2 separate regions of the Homo sapiens genome follow, and region 2 is linked to region 1. Evidence: promoter capture Hi-C in human tissues and cell types (Jung and others, 2019). All regions are on one chromosome and are shown on one strand. The core of a region is centred on a gene start or on the middle of the fragment in contact, and the rest is flanking DNA. Distances in the headings are between cores, read along the strand shown. Region 1 holds the start of SLC9A3 (solute carrier family 9 member A3). Region 2 overlaps TPPP (tubulin polymerization promoting protein).

The links. Contacts are between HindIII fragments. The study calls those that stand out against the background at their distance.
Region 2: a fragment that was not itself captured here is called in contact with the fragment with the promoter of SLC9A3 in region 1 in 7 of the 25 tissues and cell types used here (H1 embryonic stem cells, IMR-90 fibroblasts, bladder and 4 more).

The regions. Positions count from the first base shown.
Region 1 is chr5:521,187-529,037 of GRCh38, reverse strand. It overlaps SLC9A3 (solute carrier family 9 member A3), which reads left to right and starts at 4,589. Exons shown (of 17, transcript NM_004174.4): 1 at 4,589-4,926. The coding sequence starts at 4,716. It overlaps LOC107986395 (a long non-coding RNA gene), which reads right to left and starts at 4,380. Exons shown (of 2, transcript XR_001742543.1): 1 at 4,075-4,380; 2 at 1,583-2,626. RefSeq lists an enhancer at 2,390-3,022. The HindIII fragment of the contact is 12,710 bases long and covers 946-7,851 here.
Region 2 is chr5:654,473-662,323 of GRCh38, reverse strand. It overlaps TPPP (tubulin polymerization promoting protein), which reads left to right. Exons shown (of 4, transcript NM_007030.3): 4 at 1-2,462. It also overlaps a transcript of CEP72 not described here. Among named protein-coding and RNA genes, the nearest start is that of TPPP, 35 kb to the left of the region's middle. The HindIII fragment of the contact is 7,661 bases long and covers 716-7,851 here.

The DNA of each region.
Region 1 (7,851 bases), core at 3,340-5,839:
CGGCTACTGTTTTTTATTATGTTTTTTAGAGACAGGGTCTCACTATGTGGCCCAGGCTGGTCTCGAGCTCCCAGCCTCAAGTGATCCTTCTGCCTGGGCCTCCCAGAGCGCTGGGCTGGTCTCTGCACACGGTTGGATTCGGTTTTAGTGCTTCCAGTTGTGTTGGGCAACGGGGTGGGCGGGTTTGCCCGGGGCGGCGCGGTCCCTCCGGGTCTGTTGGTGCCCGGATCCCGGAGCCCCGGGCGGGGGGAGGCCACTGGCTTCGCGCGTGACCGCCAGGTCCGCAGCGCCTTTCGTGGCCGGAGACGGGGCGAGGCGACCGGAGGTCTCGGCCCAGGGGCGCGGGGGAGCGGGGCGCGGGGCGGGGCGGCGGCCGGGAGAGGGGCGTCCACGGGGGAGGTCGCCTGTCCGCGGACCGCTAAGACACCGCAGCAGAGGCGTCCGGGGCGGGCGGGGCGGGCGGGGCGGGAGGGACAGGAGCGAGAGGGTTCGTGCGCTCAGCGGGACGGAAGCGGTTGCGGATGCACATGCGGATGCGGAGAGAGGCCCATGGCGAGTTCGGCGGCGTGGCCGGCCGGGCTGTCCCCGAGGGCGGAAGGGAGGACGCGCGACCCCGACGGGCACTGACGGGCCGGCCGGGGACGGTGCTGGGAGGGCCTGCCGGGCCTTGCCAGGTCCCCCGCGCCATTGCCCTGGGGTGGACTGCGGGGCACAGAGACTCTCCTGCGGCGCCGTCCCCAGCCCTTCGCCCCTCCCGGCGCAGCCCCCGGCCCCTGAGCTCCCCACCCAACCCCGGGGCCCCTGAGCTCCCCACCCAACCCCGGGGCCCCTGAACTCCCCACCCAACCCACGGGGGGAGCTGCCGCTTCAGACACAGGCCCTGAGCTACCCCCGCAGGGGTGTCACAGTGGGGGGGTCTGACTCCAACCCGGGCTGGTGCCCTCAGGGAGCCAGGAAAGGTGAGTCTCCGCGGGTGAGGAGACCCCAGGCCCAACACGGACAGGACGGACCAGAGCGCGGGCCTCAAGTCCTGCAGGCCCTCCAGCTCCAGGCTGGTCAAGAGTCTGTCCATCTCTGAAGAAGAGGAAAGGTCCCACCTGAGGCCTCAGAGGCCACCCGGGAAGGGAAGGGCTGAGCTCTAATCTGCTTTTGAGAAAGACATTTGTATCCCCCGGATCCAACAACCAATAAGAGTGGCATTGACGGGAGGTGGCATGACGGGGGGGCGCGGTGGTCTCTTTCCTGGAAGGGCATCTCCCAGAGGGGCCTCTTGCCTGAAGCTGAGATGTGCCTGGCACACAGCAGGTGTGGACCAAGGGAAGGCCAGCAGGTGTGGCTCCCAGTGGAATAAAACCTTCCTTAAGAAGACCTGGCCCCTGACAACTTTGGGTTGAAAAATAAACTTAGAGTGGGCAGTGATGCCTGTCTCCTGCCTGGCTTCAAGCATTGGAAGTTACTTAAAAACTTAACTTTCTTCTCTTAAATATTGTTAACAACAGTATGAATGGATGCGCCTCTTCATCCACAAGACACTTTCACAAGCCGTATGTGGAATTCATGACAGGAAATTAATGTGACAGACTAGGTGTTTTCAGTTTTATTTTCTTAATCCTGAAGTTCAGATGCTGTGGCAGCTGGGTATAAGATTACAGTTGTTTTCCGACTGGCTTTTGCATTATTTCCACATTTTTGAATGTTTTACAGCCACGCCCCTTCCCCATACGTGCAGGGGGTCCCTGGACCACAAGGGGTCCAGGCCACGGTGGAAGGATCCAGAATGCTATGCGTGCCTGCCTGAGGCAGGAAGTGGTCGGGCAGTTATCAGATCGTCACCACCCACAGGACAGGAATGTTCTCAGGATACTTCCCAAGACCCCCTCACACACACACACAAGTCTCTGGGTCTTTTTGGCCATGAGGATGTGCAGGTTGTGCACTGTACAATTCCAAGGGGCACGGTTCATACAGTCTGCCTGATATGGATGGTGGCCCCTGCAGTGGTGGGGTGCCACGGCCCTGCCTAAAACCACGACCCAGTTAGAGGGAGGGTTTTGTGGCTCCAGTCCGAGGGTAGGGGAGTGGGTGTGCACACCCTGTATAATCCCCTAGACTGGCTTCTGCATGAGGCTGGCATCCTCAAGGCCATGCCCATCACAGGCTGGGGCAGCGCCCGTCTGCCCCGAGCCCTCCAGCAACCTTGGAGTGCAGACGCATTTCATCCTCCAAATGCTCACAGATTGAGATGCTGCCAAACAGCCACACTTCTCACCTGTGCAGGGACTCGTGGGCAGTGGGGTGTGCCCTGGCAGGACTCGTGGGCAGTGGGGTGTGCCTTGTTCTGGCCACGCCACTTCAGGGGCTCATTGCCTTTCTATTCTCCATGAGGCAGCCCTTCCTGCTGTGGGGGGCAGTGGAGGTGTGGGCAGCACACTACCTGATGGCCAGCGCCTGGCACTGGTGTCTGTTCTGGATTTGTCCTTCCAGGCAGTGACACTGCTCTTCTGCCCTTTGAACAGCTTTGTGGAGAAAGGTTGTCGGCTCTTAGGACAGGCTGGTTGGGGGGTGGGGTGGCCGGAGGTCCAGTGGGCATCATGGAACACACTGGTCTGGTGGAAATTTGGCCTTCCTGTGGAATGCAAGGGCAACATCTTCAGAGAGGACGTCGTTCCTAACGGCTCCACCCAGGAACCATAAGGAAAGAGCAGGGAAGCTCCGGACTGGAGGGAATCCTGTTCTTGTCCTGCTGGCTTTTTCTCTGGGACAAGAGGCTGGGAGTGGAGTGGGGGACAGAGACAGGTGGGGCAGGGACACAGGCCAAGAGCGACTCCGATGCTCCCACCTCGCAAGACCATACTAGTGGCCAGTCACACACTTCCACTCCCCCGGTGCCCTGTCCAGACCCTGCAGTGGCCCAGGCCAGGGCTGCCCTCCCTCCACGCCACTCAGCAGCCGAGTCACCAGGCGAGCACCATCTGAATGCACCTTCCCTGTGCTACACGGGCCACTTCCATTAGCATGAAACTGGGGCCCTTGCAGGGTGAAGTCATTGAACTCAGCACTGTCCTCCTCAGGCCTCCGCAGCCCCCACTCAGATGTCAGAAGACACATCCATCCTCCATCTGCACCCACCCCACCGCCCACCTGCCCTTTGTCCACCTATCTGTCCTTCCATCCATCTATCATCCATCCGCTCAGCCACTATCTTGCGAGTGCTATTGTGTGCCCAGCTATCTTCCAAGCTCCTGGGATGTATGCATGAGCCCCTTGCTCGTGGAGCAGACATTCCCAGGGTGAGGGCAGACAGCTCAAGGTCAAAGCCAGCAGCCCCCAGGGCTGGGAGGTGAGCTGATTCCCGGAGCCAACCGAGTAAGCAGGGGAGGCGGGAGCTTAGCTGCCACAGTTGTGAGCTGAGTGGGTATCGGGTGGGACCAGAAGGTGGCATTGGAGCCAAGCCCCTGGGGAGCTGAGGAAGGGAGCACACAAGAGCCGTCCAAACAGAGGGAGCAGGGCGTGCAAAGGCCCCGAGAGGCGCCGATTGCTGGTGTGGGCCGTGGAGTGCATGGGGGTGGGGGTCAGGCAGTGGCTGGGGTCTGAGCTCCCGGGAGACGTTGAGCCTTTCCTCTGAGAGGGAGGGTCCCAATAGGAGGGACTGAAGGGGCAGGTAGAGGGCCGAGCAGGAGCCTTTGCAGGTGGCTGCAGGCTCCCAGAAGCCGCTGGTTTTGTGCACATTTTGAAAGTAGAGCAGATATGCTAAGAGCTTGGAAACCTTGTGAGCGAAAGAAGTCCACCTGCGTCCCAGGTCTGGGGCTGGAAGGCTGCAGGGTGGGCTTGGAGGAAAACAGGGGTGTGGTTTGCACAGTGGAGCCTGAGATGCTTAAGAGAGCCAGTGCTGCCGGAGCGGGCTGTGGGCAGAGGCCCCGCATCCGTGTGAAGCCCTGGGGGTATCGAATTGTTTTGGGCGGAGGTCTAAAGGCAGGGGATGGGGCAGGGGAGACCACGGGGGCCCCTGGGCTCCCATCTCAGAGCCTGGGGTGGGGGATGCTGGCTGGCGATGGGAGGGGCAGAGAGACTTACCAGCGCACCACGCAAGGCCTGGGCGCCCCCGAGTTCTGGTAAGTGGCCGGTCCGGCTGTGGAATGCAGGTTCCTGCTGAAGACAATAGCGAGGGGCTGTGTGAAGACACACCTGGGGCCCCTGTGCACCCTTGGGCCGCCCTGTGGGGTCTGCGCAGCCCCAGGCCCTGCGTTTATGAAGGAGGGTTGGGGCGAGCGCACCCACAGCTGCCCGGGCATCCCAGGAGCTGCGCGGAACCGCCTGTCCCGCTGCCCCGCGCTGTGCTCCCCACGCCCCAGGAAGGCGGCCGCGCAGTCCCGGGCTCGCTCTTGCCGCGACCTCCCGGACCTCCAGGCCGCGGGCTCCGGGGGAGGGTGGGCACCAGGGAGCGCGGGGTGGGCGTGCGCGGGCGGGGCGGGCGTGCCGGGAGCTGCGGCGGTGTCTGCGCTCGCGAGTGCGCGGCGGGGGCGGGCAGGCTCCGCCCCGGGGCGGGAGGGGGCCGCGGGATTAAAGGCCACCCCGGCGGGCGGGGATCGGACTGTAGCCGGTACCGGCACCGGAGCGCGCCGGGTCCTCGCCGGGTCCCAGCCCCGCGCGTCGGCCCAGCCCAGCCGGGACCCCCCGCGACATGCGCGTCCCAGCCCTGCGCTGAGCAGGCGGCAATGTGGGGACTCGGGGCCCGGGGCCCCGACCGGGGGCTGCTGCTGGCGCTGGCGCTGGGCGGGCTGGCGCGGGCCGGGGGCGTCGAGGTGGAGCCCGGCGGCGCGCACGGCGAGAGCGGGGGCTTCCAGGTGGTCACCTTCGAGTGGGCCCACGTGCAGGATCCCTACGTCATCGCGCTCTGGATCCTCGTGGCCAGCTTGGCCAAGATCGGTAAGTGGCCCCGGGGTCTCCGGATCTGCCCGCGGGGTGTGCGGCCGCCTCTGCTGGGCCTGGGGGCTTCGTTGTGGCCGCGCGCATCAGGTCGGAGCCGCGCGGCGGCCGCCCGGGAGAGTCCGGCTCTCGGGTCCAGCAGAGCGAGACTCGGGAGCGACTCTGGCCGCGCTAAGCCGCCCCTGCGGGTCCCGAGGTCTCCCCTCCCCGGCGGGGGCACAGCCTCGGAGCCCCGGACTCCCGGCTCCCGGGTCCCTGTGGGGTCTCCGCCCCGCCTCCGCTCCGAGCCCCGCAGACTGCAGGCTGCTCGCGCCCAGGGAGTCCCCGGGGCCGGGTTTCCTTCGGGGTTCTCAGGCTTTTTAGAGAAACGTCCTTGGAGTGATGGCGTTTTTTCGTGAGTTACAAGGGCAGAAAAGAAAAGCGGTGCTACCCGCATGAAACCCAGCAGAATCCTCCCTACAGGCGCAGCGTTCCCATTGGCGGGCCTCCTTTTTTTTTTTTTTTTTTAGAAAATCCCGGTCGGTCAGATTTCTCTTCTTCTTAACCGGCGCCAATGAACCAGTAATGTGGGCACGGCAGGTAGCTCCTGGCAAGGTGACAGGAAGGTCAGCTTCCTGAGGAGCTCGTGGGGATCAAAGTTTCATGTGTTGGTCCACAGGGTAGGGTCTCTCCAGGGGTGGCAGGGAGGTGGTCACTCGTGTGGAGGGGGGATTAGGGGGCCCGAGTGGGGCCAGGAGAAGCAAGATCAGAGCAGCAGGCGCCGCGGCAGGTTTCCAGAGCAGCTTTGGACTGGGGCGAGAGGAGGTTTCGATGCTGGGGCCGAGGAGGGGCGCCCACGCAGGACAGGGGAGGGACAGGCTCCGGGGAGAACAGCTGAGAGGACCTTGGCCTTGGTGGAACCTGGTACGCCCAGCAGGCTTGATTGGAGAAGGCGCCTTTTCCTTCAGTGACGCCTGCCGCCTGCCCTATTTATGCCAGGGTCTCCCCTCCCCTTCAGGCCCCTTGTGTGTTTGCTTTCTGTCTCATAAGGGCTCTTCTGAGCCCTCCCGCCTCCTCCCTTCTCCGCAGCCTCCTCCTCGCCCTGGTGTCTTTCAGCTCCCCGCCGGGCTGCCTGCTCTCCAGGCTCAGGCTGTCCTCCCTGGGCTTTCCACTGGGGGCTTGGGATGCTGGCCGGGGGGGAGTCTCTGAGGCTGGCTGCCTCCTACAGTTGATTTCCTTGAGAAGGGCCCCTGGGGCATCAGGGAGGTCCAGACTCAACCTGGGCTCTGCGGCCGCCCAGTCCTAAAGCTCACCCTGCTTTCCTCTGACGGGAGTGCCCCCCTGGTGTAAACTGAAAAGGTAATTTCTTTTTTTTTCTTTTTTTTTTTTTTTTGAGATAGAATTTTGCTCTTGTTGCCCAGGCTGGAGTGCAATGACGCGATCTCGGCTCACTGCAACCTCCACATCCTGCCTCAGCCTCCCGAGTAGCTGGGATTACAGGCATGAGCCACCACGCCCAGCTAATTTGTATTTTTAGTACAGACAGGGTTTCTCCATGTTGGTCAGGCTGGTCTTGAACTCCAGACCTCAGGTGATCCACCCGCCTCGGCCTCCCAAAGTGCTGGGATGACAGGCGTGAGCCACCGCGCCCGGCCGTGAATATCTAATTTCTGTACAAGCTGGGGCCTCTCCCAGTTTAGCCCAGTGTACAGAGTCAGAATCTGGCATCTGAAGGTCCAATGACAGCCGCCAGGCACCAGCCAGCCCCGCCTGGGAGCCGGCAGATAAGGCACACTGACCAGGGCTTTGCCTGGCCTCAGAGTTTGTTATTCACAGGGAAAAGCCTTCAGGTCTCCCAAACACTTGGACTGGTTCTGGGAAGACGTCCTTGAGGGCGGGGAGGCTGCCGGCTCCAGCAGCAACTCCCCGGGGCAGGGCGGTCCTTTACAAAGGCCCACCCTGATAGCACTCAGCGGCTGTCTTTGTCTCGGATTGTTGGCTCCACCTGGGAAGGCGAGCCTTACCCTGTGCAGCTGTGGGAGCTCATCGCGGTATCCCACAGGCGCAGACCCTCTCCAGACCTGCCCTTTACGCTCCCTGTCGTCCCCTCAACCCACTGTGCACTCTGCAGCCCCGGCAGTGACAGCTGAGGTCTGCTCTGGGTCTGCCCGGATTGGCCCCCAGGGTGTCCCACCCTCCATCCCCTCTCTGCCAGCCACACCTCTTGAACACAGCCCCCAGCCCTCCCTGTGTGCTTCCTCCCCCAACCCCTTCCCTGTGAACTCTGGACTTCTCAGATTCCACTGGCCCAGACCGTCCTCCTTGTGCAGCCAGCCTCAGGTGCACGACCTGTGTTCCCAGAGGACCCTCAGGTCCAGGCCTTCACAGACACCGGGGCCCAAGCCTGCACCACAGCGGGAACTTCTCCAGTTTCACCCAGCCTCCTCCACATGCCCACAGCCCCCGGACTGGGGTCTGAACCTACTAAGCTGCTTGGCACATTTTGTTGTTTAAAATGGTCAGGGGTTGGCCACACTCTTTCAGTCTCAAGTTACACGAACAGAAATGTCTCTTCCAGCAGAAAAGAGCTGCCATTCCTGTTGCTTTTCCAAACATTTGTTGAATTTCTCACACATCCTGAGAGTTTCTAACTCACAGCCCCAGCCTTCTTCAAGCCATTTGTAACCTGGTTGGGGAAATAAGAGTCCGGGTACCCTGAAACCCACAGCAATGTTGATCCCAGGAGATTTCTACTCCAGGCAGCTTGGGACAGAGGATGGCCAGAGGGCCAGAGCTGCCTCAAGCAAACACTGGGGCTGGGGCCTCAGCAGGTGGCCCAGGAGCCTGGGCAAGGAACAGGTGCTGCTGTTGGCCCACCAGCCTCAGGCCGCGTGTCTGGCTCCGGCAAGGGCTCCCCACAAGCCCCCTATTTGTGTGCACTGGGGT
Region 2 (7,851 bases), core at 3,297-5,796, 130 kb before region 1:
ACCGGCCCTGAGCACGAGAAGAGCCTCCGCCCGGCCCGGGCACCACCCGACCTCGCAGGGAGCAGGCCCTGTCACCGACGGGTCACCTCGCCCACACGGCCAGCACCGACTCACCACAGCCCTTCCCAGACCTGGCTGGAGTGGCCGGAGCGGCGGGGCTCATGGCTCCCATCTTGGCCCCTGGAGGTGAGCTCATTCACAGAAGTGGTCCCTTCACTCTGAGAGAGAAAATCGTGGCGTGCATCCCAAACCCTAGGCCACGCCTGTGGGTTTCGTGAATGAGATCGAGGCTGCTGTGGCACCCTGCCCGTCCTGGCCTGGAGCACCCTGGGATCCTGGAGGGAGAGGCCCCACGCCCCCACTCTCCCTCCACACTTCCAGGGTTGGTGCCCACGAGTTAGAGGCACGCCCTCCCCCAGCGGCCCTCAGGCTTTTCTCAGACATGCGGGAGCCAGGAGAGCACCCTTCTCCACTCAGCTCCAAAGCGAATCTTTGAAAACACCCACTCGGCTCCCATCTCTGTCACCTAGCCAGGAGGGGTAGCAAAAATAAAGTCACGAGGACATAGTGGTCACCACTGTCAGTTACAACTTGTCTGTGGAATCCGTAATTGCATCTGTGTGCCGCCTCCGAACACAGAACATTGTTTGGACGGCAGCCCCACTGCACATAACAGACCCGTGCATCTTCCTCAGTCAGTTTCTGAATATTGTGAATTCAGGCAGGTGTGTGTTCTCTTCTGCATGTTTTTATGCACTGCCAATTAGCTTCTACTAACCACGGTTCAACAGAAAATAAATGTGTATTTGTGAATAACAAACTGCACAACCTGCAAACCAGGAGAGAGGGACAGGTTCTGTCAGGGGTGACACCAGGACACAGGGACAGGTTCTGTCGGGGGTGACACCAGGACACAGGGACAGGTTCTGTCATGGGTGACACGAGGACACAGGGACAGGTTCTATCATGGGTGACACCAGGAGAGAGGGACAGGTTCTGTTGGGGGTGACAAGAGGAGACAGGGACAGGTTCTGTCGGGGGTGACACCAGGAGAGAGGGACAGGTTCTGTCAGGGGTGACACCAGGAGAGAGGGACAGGTTCTGTTGGGGGTGACACCAGGACACAGGAATAGGTTCTGTCGGGAGGACAGTGCTGATCGTGTCTCAGCATCAGGAAAGGAGAAAGGCAGAGGGAGAGCGCTGAGAAGACTGTTCACGCCAGAGTGCTTATTTATTTTTAATTTACTGCTATAGGATAAGCAACCAGGTAGTGTTCCTAACAATTAGCGTTACCAAAATTAAAGTTCAAATTATATGTTTAAAATATTGTAGAAGATATATATTTATACTGGACTACTTTTACACCTTCTAATATCCTGTCCAAGTTTGGGCGCAGATGGTGGAGTTGGGCTGGCATCATGTCCTGTGGCCGCCCCACTTGCCTGTTGGTGCCACTCCATCCCGGGCCCCAGGGATGCCAGCTCAGGGCTGACCACAGCAGCCCTGCGTGGGCATCACCTCCTACCCCAGCCCCCATCCTGGGCTGCTGCGGCCGCCTGCTTTTGTGAATGGTGTTTTGTTGGCACAGGGCCTGTCCTGTGTTTTCACACAGGCCTGTGGCTCCTGCTGTACAAGTGGAGTGGGGAGGAGTTGAGATGGAGATGCCTTGGCCCTGGACACTTACCTGTCCCTCTACTGGCCCAGCTCATCTCCTCCTGTGGGCAATCACGCGTGCACTGGCCACCCTCCCACCCCACAGCACACACCACGAGGGGATGGCACAGGGGGAAGATGAGGCTGGACCGTGATGTTATCAATAGGCTAGAACGTCCTTCAAACACTGAACCTGCATCTTTCCTCCTCTTACTACTGAACACTTTGTGAGCTCTGGTGGTCCAGGGTGCAGCGTTTGTCCCTGGGCATGTGATGGGGAGTCCTGGGCACATCGAGATGCTTTACTTCTTTCTTTCGACCTCTTAAAAAACTAAACCAAGCCAAACCACAAAGGAAATCTGCACAACTTAAGAGAAACTTGAAAGGGATCGTGTAACTACTAGTTTGTACTAAGTTTTTTTCAAGAAAGGGAAACAAATTTATATATATATATATATATATATATGTGCAATATATTTTTACACTGTGTGATTAACATTAGGGAGTACTGAGTGCATCACTTTATCAGTGTGACGGGTGATGTCCACGTCATGGCTGTTCTGACTCTGAAAGCCACTTCTGCTGATGTCTAAACCGCACTCACCGCGGACGTCCGCGGGGTGGGGTGGCCCTGCTGTTCCTCCTGCAGGTGAGAGGTGTGGTGTTGCCTGTTGGACTTGCTGTTGAGCCTGGCTTGCAAACCTGTAGTGAAACAGCTCGTGTCTGTGTGCACACTGCTCCTGTGTCTGCTGTCGTTAACATTGTGTGTCAAGTTGGTAAAGTGACAAATAAAGGTGTTAAAACATGGATTTCTCTGTTCCTCAGAGCACACGTGTCTGTAACAGGTGATAACAGGGGATAGGTACTGGAGGGGCCCCAGGTGGGGAGTGTGCTGAGTGCCTCCACTGGGCTGAAGCTCACAGGGCCAAGGCCCTTGTGTCGCCTTTTCCCGAGGGAGTCTCTCGCTTCCTCATCTAGACAGGAGGACCGTGAAGGAGGAGCAGGCGGACCAGCCATCTGTCAGGTGTGAGTCCTGCTCTAGCACTGGTGTAGCCCTGGGTGGGGTCTAGATTCAAGGGGAATGGACATGAACACTGTGAACACCACCAGAGCCCCCAAAACAGGACAATGTCATCACAGGCTGCTATAAAAAAAATGCCAACCTGAGATACTAGCCCAGCGAAACAGTTTTCCAAAATGAGGATACAATAAAGGCATTTTTGGACAATGAAAAGAGAATTTGCCACCAGCAGACATTTAAAGAAATTCTAAATGCAGAAAGCAAAGGTGATCTCAAATGGCATGTCTGGTTTGTGAAGAAAGTGGAGCAAAGAGAATAAATAGGTCAATAACTCCAAATTAACAGTGGCTATATCAATACTTTGTGAGATTAAAATGTTTCATAAAAATACTTGGGAACCCCCACAGGTGAGCAGAACAGGAGCATGGAGAGGGACGCGCGCCTCGCGCTCCAGGAACCAACCCCAGAGGTGGGTGAGAGCATGGACTAAACGCACACATGCCATAAGCATGGGACAGAAGCAGAGTACAGTCTCCAAACGAGCAGAGGGACATGCGGGATGACAGGAGATCATCCAAAAGTGGCAAAAGTGAAGAGGGAAAAAACCATGAATAGAACAAACAGCACAAAATGAGATGGCAGATTTAAACTAATGAGATGGTGGATCAATCAGCTTCGCTGAGGCCGGGCGCGGTGGCTCACACCTGTAGTCCCAGCACTTTGGGAGGCCGAGGCGGGCAGATCACAAGGTCAGGAGATTGAGACCATCCTGGCTAACACAGTGAAACCCTGTCTCTGCTAAAAATACAAAAAATTAGCCAGGCGTGGTGGCGGGCGCCTGTAGTCCCAGCTACTCGGGAGGCTGAGGCAGGAGAATGGCGTGAACCCGGGAGGCGGAGCTTGCAGTGAGCCGAGATCACGCCACTGCACTCCAGCCTGGGCAATAGAGCGAGACTCCATCTCAAAAAAAAAAAAAAAAAAAAAAAAAAAAAAAAAAAAAAAAATCAGCTTTGCTGATAAAACAAGAGAAAGAAACACAGAACAGGGAAATTGATAAAATAATATTTTAACCCATATTTATTTGTAATTTCAGCATGGCTAATGATAGATCAGATCAGAAATTGAAAAGAAAATGGAGGCAAAGGGTGTTTCTTTGAAAGGACTGAAGAGAAAGTTCAAATAACGAATATGAAGAATGGCCAAGAATGGGCTGAGTCCCCGGGAGGCAGATGCTGAGGTGGCCTTTGTATCACAAGAGGCTCACTGGTGAGGAATGCCCCTGAACAGCAGCAAGGGGAGGAGGCCGGGAGGCCTCAGGGAGGCTCTGGAGATGACCTGCTAGGGAGCTCCCTGTGGTTCGCATTAGGCCCAGGCCCTGCCTGCTTGGACACTGGCTGCAGCTGCCTGGATGAGTGTGTCCTCAGCTCCAGAGCCCAGGCACAGCCTGACAGCATGGTGGCTGGAGATGGTCTCTACCCCTGTACTCCCTGCCCCTGGATGGCAAGGTCTCGCTTGAAGGGACACAACTGTCCCTACATCTCTGCCACAGGGACACACACAACTTCAAATGTTGAAGCCATTCAAATTATGTGTGTTATACCCCCCAAAATGGAAAATTAAGACAATATGGACCAATTCTTAGAGACACATAACTTACAAAAACTAACTCGAAAAGAAATGGAAAGCCTGCTCAGCCCTGTGACTTAGGGGAAGTCACTGCCAGCTACAAAAGAAAACCCCTAACACTTCAGTGGCTGGACACACAAAATGTATTACTCACACAACGTCCAACTTCAGGAATAACAAGAGATCTCTTCTAACAGAAGACAAACAGACTTCCTAATCCTGTGATGCAGCTGCCCAGGTCACTGGCAGGGAAGCTATCACAGTGACGCACCAGCTCCCGCTGCTCTGGCCCTGAAATGACTCACCTCAGTCCCACACACAGGCTGTTGCTCAGTAGTCACACGGCCCCAGCCCAACTCAGGGATATGCAGCGTAAAGGCAGGGGGGACATAAGGATGGTCTGTGTGAACGGTTCTGCCACATCCTGGAACACTGAGTTATACTGGATCAGTAGTCAAACCTCCTGACAAAGAAAGTTCCAGGCACAAGTGACTTCACCAGCAAGTTCCATCAAACATCCATGGAAGAAATAATTATAATCTTAAGTAAATTCTCCTAGAGAATGGAGAAAGAATACACAACCTAGCTCATTTTACGGTGGTGTAAAGATGCGAATCCTTTCAAGAACAGCATTACAAAGGAAAATCGTAAGTGGCTGTCACCCGTGAAGAGAGATACTAACCACTGTACTAGAGCACGCAGCTACCCAGTGCTCAGGACGCACCAGATGCTGCCCGAGAGTCTTATTCATACTAACTCATTTCACCTTCACAACAATCCTGTGAGGAAGCCACTATTTCCCCATTGTACAGACGAGGAAATCAGGGCCCAAACACAGGTGCTAGGTAGTATAGCTGGGCCACAAAATGCTAAACAAAATATTAACAAACCAAATATAACAATATGTATGTAAAAGAAAATCCATAATTATTAAGTTGGACTTATCTCAGAAATTCAAGGTTTATTTTTAACAAAAGCAAATTATGGTCGTTAAACACATCAATATATTAAATGATAAAAATCATGGTCATCTCCATCACTGCAGAAAAAGTGATAAAAGTCATCCATTCTTGAGGCGAATTATTGATAGAAGAAGCTTTAAAACAAGCAAAAAAAATCCATTACAAGTGAGTGGATAAATGGTGAGAATTTATCACCCCTTTGAATATCAGGAAGAAGACAACGATGCCCACTCTGTTACCACCTCTAATCAGCACTGCACTAGGGGTTCCGACCAGTGTAGAAAAGCAAAAAACAAAACAAAAATAAAAACATAAAGTAAAAATCCAGAACAACAGGAATGGGAAAGAAAACCCATTACTCATAGAAAACATGACTGTGTGCCTAAAAATGAGGAAACAGCTACAGGCAAATGATTAAAATTACTAGACTGCCGGATACAAATTAATACACAAAAATGAATTTCCATGAAATGGCAACACATAATTAGGAAAATGAAATCCAAGCACATTTTTAAAAACAGCATCGCAAAATAACAAGGACCTAGGATTAAATGTAACAAAAGACATACAAGACCACTGTGAAAAGTATCAGGCTGTATGAACACCCGCTGAAGGAGCCCTAACATTTGGAGAGACAGATACCATGTTCAGAGCTTGTAAAACCCAGTACTGCAAGTACGTCAATGATTCCCAAGTTGATCTACAGGTTCAACACAATCCCAAACAAAATCCCAACTCGACCGGCTAGTTCTAAAATGTATGAAACACAAAGGGTCAAAAACAGCCAAGACATCCTAACATAAGATGGAGGTACGCGCCCCAGAGTGTGTGGTATTGGCAGAGACAGACAAGGAGATGCAGAAACGGACACAGAGATCATCCTGACAAAGGAATCTTCAGCAGCCGGGACTGGGAAAACTGGGCTTATGTCTGCAACACAATGAAACTGGATCCTTAAGCTTCACAACAGGCGCAAAAATCAATTCTGGGTAGAATCTATATCTAAAATCCAAAATATACAAAACTATAAAATCCTTTGGAAGGTAACAGAGTATCTTTATGATCAAGGCAAAGTAAAGATTATTAAAAATTAGGATCCAAAATGCTTTAATCATAAAAGAAAATATTGATACATTGGGCCATATTAAAGTTTAAAATTTCTCTTAAAAGACACCATTGAAGTAAAAAGACAAGAAAAGCTATTTGCAAATGTAATTCACAAAGCACTACTACCCAGAATCATAAATAACACCTGCAAATAAATGAGACAGACCATCCAATAGAAAAGTAGGGAAAATACTTGAATAGGTACTTTACAAACAGGAAATCCCAATGAGCCGCAGACACATGAGAAGGTGCTGAACAAGGAGAAGCCAATGAAACCAGAAAGAGGTCTACCCCACACGTTCCACCACCCCGCGCCCTCCGCCACCCCGCGCCCTCCACCACCCCACTCCCTCCACTACCCCACACCCACCGGAGTGAAGGTGCTAACACTTCAGGCAATGGGTGCTGAAAACATGGACCGGCAGACGTGGTCATACACAACTAGCAGTCGGGCCTGCGGGTACCACCACTTTGGAACAGTTGGGAATTTCTAGTAAACCTGTTAAAAACATGGTTAAGCAGTTAATGGAAACGTGAACATAATGGGATATAAAACTAATGAAAAAAATCAAATGGAGTTTTTTTGTTTTTTTTTTGAGACGGAGTCTTGCTCTGTCGTCTAGGCTGGAGTGCAGTGCTGCAATCTTGGCTCACTGCAACCTCCGCCTCCCAGGTTCAAACGATTCTCCTGCCTCAGCCCCCCAAGAAGCTGGGACTACAGGTGCCCACCACCATGCCCAGCTAATTTTCATTTTTAGCAGAGATGGAGTTTCGCCATGTTGGCCAGGCTGGTCTCAAACTCCTGGCCTCAAGTGATCCTCCTGCCTCAGCCTCCCAAAGTGCTGGGATTACGGTGTGAGCCACCCCGCCTAGCCTCAAATGGAATTTTAGAACAAAAATATACCTAATTTCTGATATAAAAAATTCACTATACAAGCTTAACATCAAATTAGGCAAGTGGAAGAAAAGATTAGTAAGCCTCGCAACAGGACAATAAAACCACCTAAAGGAAAGGATGAGAGAACAAGGATGAAAAAGCATCACGTTTAGTGACCTGAGAGACAGTATCACAGTCTAACAGAAAGCTAACTAGAGTCCCAGATGGGGACAGGGAGGAAGAAGTGAGAGACGGGGTCAGACAAGAAATATGAGTAGTGGCTGCAACTTTGCCAAATCTGGTGAAAAATATGAACTCACAGGTCCAAGAAGCTCAATGAAACCCAAACGAGGTAAGCATCTATAAGCTTAAAGTGGATTAATATTAACATCTTCTAATACTCTTACATACATAAATTACGTGATGACAAATTAACCCCATCCCAACCCTACAGAAAATAAATTTGGTATGACACATTTTCCTGTTAGGACCACAACTGGACAGAGAGGTGACACAAGAGGGCAGCCTGAAGCCTAGCAAGTCCTCTTCGGGGAAGAGACAGCAGAGTCCCACCTCTGATTTCCCCAGGGATACAATCCACACGC